Regions from separate parts of the Homo sapiens genome. Here region 1 is linked to region 2. The links are contacts of gene promoters, found by promoter capture Hi-C in blood cells and fetal thymus (Javierre and others, 2016). All regions are on one chromosome and are shown on one strand. Each heading gives the region's core, a stretch centred on a gene start or on the middle of the fragment in contact. The rest is flanking DNA. Distances are from core to core; before and after follow the strand shown. Region 1 overlaps ADAMTS19 (ADAM metallopeptidase with thrombospondin type 1 motif 19). Region 2 holds the start of ADAMTS19 (ADAM metallopeptidase with thrombospondin type 1 motif 19).

Region 1 (4,276 bases), core at 870-3,369, 280 kb before region 2:
CCAATTTTAGGGAACCTGAAACTTTTATAATGAGAAGTATGTTTGCCCTTTGCTCCCAAGAGACATACTATCTTCCAAGGCAGTTCACTCTATAAACATCCTCTAGAAGATACTCCAGAACAAAAGTAGACAGTACCTTTGTTCATCAGACATGTGGATATGTGACAAGTCTATGAAGAATTGTCTCTCAGTGGGAAGTTTTACATATTTTATTGAAAAATCTAAGAAATCATGTGAATCATGTATAATATTTTCTCACAAGAAAAATTTTAAGCTGGCTTTTGAACGTTTCACATAATTGTAAAACTTTTTAATTTTTAAAAGGAAGAAAAACACAATGAAACGACCACCGTATTATATGCTTTCTGTTTTTCCTTGTTCCTAGGGAAAAGGCTGAGAAATACTAGTAAATTTTCTAATTATGATTCGTGAGGCTAAGTACTATACTCTTTAATAAATCTGCTAAAAAGATACAGGGAAATGGGTGGATCAATGTTTTCTTTGTTAAAAATATTTAAAAAAAGCTAAAATCTAGTGATAACATGTTAAAATAATACACATTTTTTGTAAGATGTCACCATTTCTAACGATTTCTCTACACTATATCAACAGTGCAATTGTGATTCAGTGTAAATCATTACAGTGTTTCATTGTTACAATACTTGTGTTCAAGTACATGTTCATGAACATGATCAAAGTCTCTATTTTGACTTTTCTTTTCCATATCAAAATAAGGTTATAATTACAGCAGAATTTTTCCTATGGATGTCTATAAATCTGAACCAAATTCATAATACATTCTCTAAAAACCTGTTCAACAGCATGAGGTTCATTATGTTTACACATCTCCTGCAGGTGACAGAAAATGGGCTAATTCTGCAGCAGGACACCAAAAAACAAAAATAGTTTCTCTTCATATACACCTAAACTATTATGCTAAGTCAGTATACATTCTGGATAATTCAATGTTATTGGTGGGGAGAGAGTAGCACCTTAGAGATAGCCCTAACAAACAACGAAAACTTGTTTTAAGTATAATGATCTATTTTTTTCCTTTTTCTTTTTATTATATTACTGGATCCAACTAATTCATTCATATAAAATTATTTATGAAGCCATATAGTATAAATCAAAATGTTTGTGTAACCAAAACAAGCACCACATTGGATGTTTGGCAGGCAAAAAAATAAATTAATTTGATTAAATTATATGTAATCTGATAATATTTGGTCTGAAAAACATGCTAGTGTGTGTGTTTATAAATAATGTAATTGCCAAGAGCTGTGATCCAGCCAGCCTGCTAGAGGTCAACTCTTCTGCTGCAGCTTTTGGGCATAGAAGTCCCTGCATGTTTCACAGCAGCGCTGATACCACCGCATGTCCTGACATAGGTTCTTTTCACGTATCACTCGGCAGTACACTGGCCACTGATCTCCCAGGCACTTGAAAGTCAGAGCAGCTGTGAAACAGAACATAGTGAATTCACTCCATGCAGATATCATATATGTCAGTAAAAACCAACTTCAAGCGTTTAAGTGGGGCGGATTTTGTACACTCTCTTTGGTTCATTTATATTACCTTCTGGAATTTAAACAAGAAAGAGATACACACACATACACACCTCCTATGATTAAAAAGTAAAGAATGAATAATATTTTTACTTATAAATGTTTTTAGGCCTATTAAAGATATAATTCCCAGGTTCAATGTGTTGTACTTTTAAGCTTCAGTTTCATAGCTTGCATTTAAGTTGCTTTTGAATTTTAGTAGAGAAAATTAAAAAGAAAAATAAATGTGCTCAATATATCTACCTTTATGTGAATACAAATTAATAAATACTATTATTAGGGTTGAAATTACAAGGAAACAGCAAAGTAAAAATATGCTCACAGTTATTTCATATTCCTAGTTTCCCCAGATAACAGACACATCTAAATGGATTACCTGGAGCTGTGATTTCAGGCTTCTATAAAAATTAATGCATATCATCACAAGCGACTGAGATTTACAGCAATAGTTGAAGTGTTTGAAATGAGAAGTTGGTATAGAATATTTGGTCATGTAGACTTGGCCTCCCTTTTTGTAAAACAGTGTGTTCTGGAATGCATAATGAAAGTCACTGCTGCTACAATTATTTCTTTTGCATATGAGAATGAATCGTATTCTAATATAATTATTCTATTTTTAAACACCTTAGATTTTCCTAACCATTGTGCTTCTGTATTTTGGGGTATACCTTCAAGGAATAATAAATAGAGAAAATGCAATTTTAACAAATTTTTTCTTTTAATCCATTATTTTCTGCCATGTAATATTTCAAGGACTCCAACTAATTGTTGGAGAAAGGAATTATACTGCTATTGAATAAATGGATTTAGTACATCTGCTCTAGAATTGCTTAACTTTTTGTCTTAATTAGTGTTATTCACCTTGAACTCATTATTTCTTAGGAATGCTAGTTAATTATTTGGCCCTAAAAAGAGAATTTTTGTATTTCGAAGAAACCAAGCTTTCACATTTGATTGAGTCTTATGCCTGGAAAAATACACATGATAATTTATCTTCTTACATTTTGGTAATATTATTTTGTATGATTCCAATTGTTCCCCTGGAGATTATATGCACAGGTTAAAACCAAAGGTATTAAATATAAATTAACCCACTGACAATGAGGCAAGAGTGCTGTTAAATGCTACTAATAGTCAAGATGTAAATGCTAAATCATTCATTAGTATTTGTTATGCAAGTGTAGGCTATATCTACTTAAAATATGTAGTCTAATTCTCAATTATGGGTTAGATTAAATAACAGAAATTGAGGATATATATATGAAGGCATTTCATAACATAAAACAATGTAAATATCAATATAGTCAATATTACTAGAATGTATTTTTTATTTAGTATCATATTCTCAAAACTTAAAAAGAAAATAGAACTTCTTGTTTAATGGTGTAGATCCATGCACCCATTCTTCTTGAAAGACATTTTTTAGTCTGTGTCCCTCCAAAGAATAATTTATACCCAGATCACAAGGAAGGCTATCAACCATGGAGAAATCTAAGGCTTACACTACAATCTCATCTTTCCACAGATATTAACTTAATTGATAGTTCTGCCATGAGATTGATCCGAGTCTAAATTTTGGTTACAAAAAGACCTGGGGTGGTGTGGCATTATTTCCTGGACCTGGCTCTGATTGGACAACTTTGGGAATCAAAGCAGTTTAAGTTTTTAGGACTTTTTTACCCACCTGACCATTTGGACGAAATCATATTTAAATGGATCCAATTTAGTGCAAACCAAAATAATCAGTATAGATTTACAACTATCAAGGTTTAAAGTAATATACAAAATACAAGAAGCCATAAGCATTTCTATGTTTTTCAAAAGCATCTTTTTTTTTTGTCTGCTTACCCAGTCTGGGTGATGTTATGGTATTTACATTAATTTTCTCATTGCAGGGTTGAAGATGGCATGGCCTGTATGCTGCAGGTTTTTCTGAGGAAAAACATTCATTTCCATGTCTTCCTGTGATCTTATGCATGCATTGGATTACACGGGACTGCATTCCTTTGCCACAGGTAATTGAGCACTAGGAGAAATACAAGGTTTGTTTAGGTTCTTTTTTATTTTTATTTTTTGCTGTTATTATTTTCTAGGGTGTGGGAACATTCTCTAAATGTTTCTTAAAATTAAATATGAGCTGCAACATCCACAGTCAATGCAAAACATGGGTCAGAAACATTGATGCTCATAAATTGGGCACAATGCCTTTGAGAACCTCTGGCTGATCTGAGACAGAGTTTTGGGTAATGAAAAGGACATAAGAGTAAAGAAGGATAAAGAAAAAGGTACAGTATGACTTGAAGAGAAAGAGAGTGAATGACACCAGTAATGCTTGAGCAGACAGCTTTCCAAGGTCTAACACATGGTTTGCAAACAAATAATTGATTTATTATTATTTAATTTAATCATCGATGTTCAGAAGTTAGCACATGTCTACTTTTAGAGCTGGATCCTTGTTACAGTCTTTAAATATACTCATCTGCCTTATTTTCTCTGGCCTTAAAATGTTTATAAATTATATCAAGATGTCTTAGCCAGATATGTTATTAAAGTAATTGCTTTTTCTTGGTAGATTAGATGATGTTAGTATTATGCTAATAAAAATATTTGATAATCTGAATTTCTCAGGTAAAAGGTACTTTTTTTCTCTTTTTTATTTTTATAGATTCAGGGGATAGATATATAGCAAAATGGTAAGGTTTGGGCTT
Region 2 (3,927 bases), core at 1,312-3,811:
TCTTGTGGATTTCTCAGTGGCTCACTATGAACAGCAAAATGAAGCCACAAATCACAAGTGCATTTTTGATATTTTATGAGTTTTGTCTTAAACCAATTAATAGTAAAGCCTATGGTGGTGGCAACAACCATAAAGGACATGGTGGTGTTGCACAACAACGTGAATGTACTTAATGCCACGTACCTGTACATCTAGAAACAGTTAAAATAGTAAATTTTATGTTATGCATATTTGACCCCCCCACACACACACACACACAAAGGTCAACTTATAGAAGCTTGTCCCAACCCCTGAATCGTGACAGAGGGAGAAAAATCAAATGATGTTCTACATTGACAGAGCAAATGGCTTTTACTTTCCATCCCAACAGGCCTTTTAACAAGGCTCTCCACCTTGCTCCTTTCCTCCAAAAAGTGGAAAGAAGAAAAGGAACTACTGTCAAATGAAATGTAAATCACAGAACCATAACCCTTTGAACACAGATCGGATTCTAATGTCACCCGTTACTCAACCTCCAGTCTCTCAGTTGAGTCCCTCCCAACTCCTTTCACAAGAACAGTGAACAGGTGTCCAGTATGACTCTGGATGTGTTTAAATTCTAGACAACTGTCAGAGTAATCCCCTATAGAACTGTTCTTTCAACTTTGAAGTAGGTTATGAAAAAGCTCTAAGATAACAGATGAGGAACTGAGAGTGCGGCGCAAACACGAAGGAGATTCATCAGTGAGCCGACTGGTTGTCTTTCGAGTTCCTAAAAGACATCACGTGGAGCGCTTAGTTTGGAAAACTCTGGAGAACAGAAAGAAGTTGAGCCATTGGGAAGAAGTTACGAAAAGGCAGAGTTTCACGCAGTTTTGAAAGACACATAACCATCTGGAAGGAGAAGGCCATTTATCCACCCAATTAAACTTCCGATTTACACAACTGCCCTGGAGATGTTCCATGGGAGGCAAACGATGTAGACACCTGGGGGTGCAGTCTAGGGCCAAGCTCAAAAGGAGCACACTGAAAGGGGAGAAGGTGCATGCAAATCATCCTGACCTATGGGCAAGGAGAGGAGCAGCAGGGGAAAATGGAGAGCTAGGGAAAGAAGGCGCTTACCAGGCCACCTCCACAGGTGCTGAAAGAAGCCAGCGAGCCAGGGTGCCGCAGCACAGCTCCGGTGTAGAAGCAGCCTGCGTCTGGTGGCGCGGGAGGTTGCGGGGCGGATGCTGCCCCCGTGGGGCCGGGGCCGGGATTTGGCCGCTGTTCCACTGCGAAGCGCGGCGCCAGGAAGCGGCCGTCTCTCCGGAGCAGCAGGTACAGGTCCCGAGAGAAGGCCGGGATCCGCAGCAACACTTCGTCGCCATCCGGCTCGGCATGCTGGGCCGGGGGCGGGGACGGGGGCGGCTGCGGGGGAGGCGGCGGCTGCCACGAGGCCGGGGCGCCCGGGGACAAGGCGGCAGCCCCGCTGGATCCCCGCGGCAGCTCCTGCGACTCGAGCTCCTCGTCCTCCTCACCCTCCGACGGCGGCGGGGGCCGGAGCCGGGACTCTGATCGGCCCTCCACGGGCTCCTCCAAAGGCACCGGAGCCACAGAGCGCACCTCGCGTGAGCTGCCGGCAGCCTGCGCCCGGGCGCTTCCGCCGCCCCCAACGCCGCGCACCCAGCCCGGGTCCGCGCTGCCCCCGCTGCCGCCAGCCGGGTCCACCGGCTCCCGGCGCCAGAGCGCAGGAAACACGACTTCCCACTCCTCGCGGTCGGGGGCGAACTGCAGCTCTGCGGGCGGGGCAGACAGAAGTGCGGGGCTTAAAGTGCCGCGGTTCCAGTAGCACAAACATTTCCAAGCTCACAGTCCATAGATACAGGGCGCTCGCGTTGAATGCAATGGAGACCACCCGTCTAGACCCTGAAACTCTGCAACCCCAGAAGCCTTGCGATCAGATTACAGACCCCAGCATTTTCAGAGTAAAAGTACGATTATATTAGGGGCGGGGGAGGGGGAATCAAAGTTTGGTGACCGCACTTCATTGTTGAAAAGAAAACCGATGCAAAGACTCCAGCACGAGTAAACGATTTCTGAAGTGTATGCTAGAGCAGAGCGTTGCTATCAACTTAGGTACGTTCTAATTTTCCTCCAGGTGCTGTAAACGTACCTTTGCAAATATTATTGCTCTAATTAGAAGGAAACTATTCCACATACGGTTAAAACGAGGCCGGCAGAAGTGTGCTTCATTTCCGAACTTGACCCCTTAACCTGCACCTCAAGCTCATTTTTATTGCTACCCACTGAGCCCTGCTCTCCACGCACCGGTTGCACCAGCCCTGCCGACCCGTACGTTCGCGGTCTCCGCTGGGATGGCTGGAAAGGAAGCGAGAAAGTCACGGAAGAACTTACCTGAAACGATCCCATTCGACAGGAACCCCAGCTGGTAAAGGAGGCAGCAGCAGCAGATGTGAGTCAGGCGCATCTCGCGGTTCTTCCCCATACTGCGCTCCCGCGGCCGCGGCTTCTCGCCCGGCGCACGCCTCCAGCGCGATCCACTCCGGGGCGCAGCGGCCTCCCCGGAGCGCTAGGAGGCCGGGCGGCGAATTTGCCCAGGCCCTTTGTCTGCCGGGGGAGGGGGTGTTGGGGTGGGGGGGTAGGCTGTGTGACTCCGGGAGGCCGCCGAAGCCCTGGCGGGGGTGGGGTGGGGTCGGGTTGGGGGAGGAGCGGGGGAGGCAGCCCCGCGGCCCCGCAGCCCTCGAGCTCCCTGGCGAATTAGGAGATGAGTCTATTTTCTGTGTTCTGGACGCTGCAGGAGTTTCCGAGGCCGAGCAGGCTAGTGCTGGAGCCCCACAAGACAGACCCACAGCCAGCCGAGAGCCGGGAGTGCTGCCTCTGGACAGGCAGAGGACTGCCCGGCGCGGGCAGGAGAGCTGTGGTGTCCGAGCCGAGGCTCGCCGCCTGCACCCGCGCGGAACGGGCGGAGGCTGGTGTCACAGTCTCAGCAACTTGGTGTGCCAAGCTCCGCACACTCCTCACGCTCCTTAGGACGCACCGCTGAAGGCTCTCACCCGCAGCGGCGCGGGAGGGAATGAGTAGGGAGATGGGAAGACACGACTAGAGAGGTGGGTTGTAGAGCAGAAAAGAATCAAGCACATCTGACCAGAAAAAGGGACCAAGGGGTGCCCGCCAAGCGTGACTTTGCGGGACAAAGGTCCCAGAACACCGTGCACGTGCTCAAACGCCGGTTGGGATGGGGTGGGGACCCAAAATCCCTCACCTGACTATTGATTGGCCACTCGGGAAGGCCTGATTTGCATCCATCCCCTGCCCCCGTGTGCAGGTAGAGGTGCCTCCCCCTTCCCATCCCACTCCTCAATCCAGCGCCTCTTTTTGTCAAATTCGCACATCACACAAGGCAAAAATTAGTGCAGACTTGACCACAAAACTGAGGCCTCATTTATCAAAGGCCTTTGATTTGTCTTCCCATCTTTTTCGGAATTTTCTAAGCCCGGAGATAATGTAATTCGTCATGGAATATGCTTTAAAGTTTCCCAGGACAGTAGGCACCCTTAGGTTTCAGAGCCTCTTTTCCTTCCTTGTCTTTCTAGCTCCCCATTCATCAGTACTATCAGTTTCTCTCCTTCCCCTACCCCACCCCATTACACACACACACACACACACACACACACACACACACACACGAGTCCTAAAAGGAGTAAGAGTAAGGGAATCAACATTAAACATTATATTCTAAAGATCTCAGACCAGGTGAGATTATTTTGTCTTCTGTACTTTTTACTTGTACATAAAAAAATATGTTTTTGCTGTTTCTGTCCTCTTTGGGGCAATTCAACCCCATATATTTTTTTTTCCTTTGTTGCAATTCTCTTCATGGTACCTACTCCCCTTTCCACAACTCTCCCTCAGCCACATCAAAGCGTTCACATCCGATTTAAGGAT

What was found. The method cuts DNA at HindIII sites, captures the fragments that hold promoters and counts their contacts. A CHiCAGO score of 5 or more calls a contact.
Region 1: a fragment that was not itself captured here is called in contact with the fragment with the promoter of ADAMTS19 in region 2 in 1 of 17 cell types (megakaryocytes); the score reaches 5.2 in megakaryocytes.

What each region holds. Positions count from the first base shown.
Region 1 is chr5:129,734,250-129,738,525 of GRCh38, reverse strand. ADAMTS19 (ADAM metallopeptidase with thrombospondin type 1 motif 19) reads right to left here. Exons shown (of 23, transcript NM_133638.6): 22 at 3,417-3,594; 23 at 1-1,459. The coding sequence ends at 1,308. Among named protein-coding and RNA genes, the nearest start is that of MINAR2, 12 kb to the left of the region's middle. The HindIII fragment of the contact is 785 bases long and covers 1,727-2,511 here.
Region 2 is chr5:129,458,932-129,462,858 of GRCh38, reverse strand. ADAMTS19 (ADAM metallopeptidase with thrombospondin type 1 motif 19) reads right to left here and starts at 2,561. Exons shown (of 23, transcript NM_133638.6): 1 at 2,377-2,561; 2 at 1,102-1,757. The coding sequence starts at 2,467. It overlaps ADAMTS19-AS1 (ADAMTS19 antisense RNA 1), which reads left to right and starts at 2,170. Exons shown (of 2, transcript NR_125748.1): 1 at 2,170-2,434; 2 at 2,780-3,300. RefSeq lists an enhancer at 2,640-3,602. The HindIII fragment of the contact is 6,646 bases long and covers 280-3,927 here.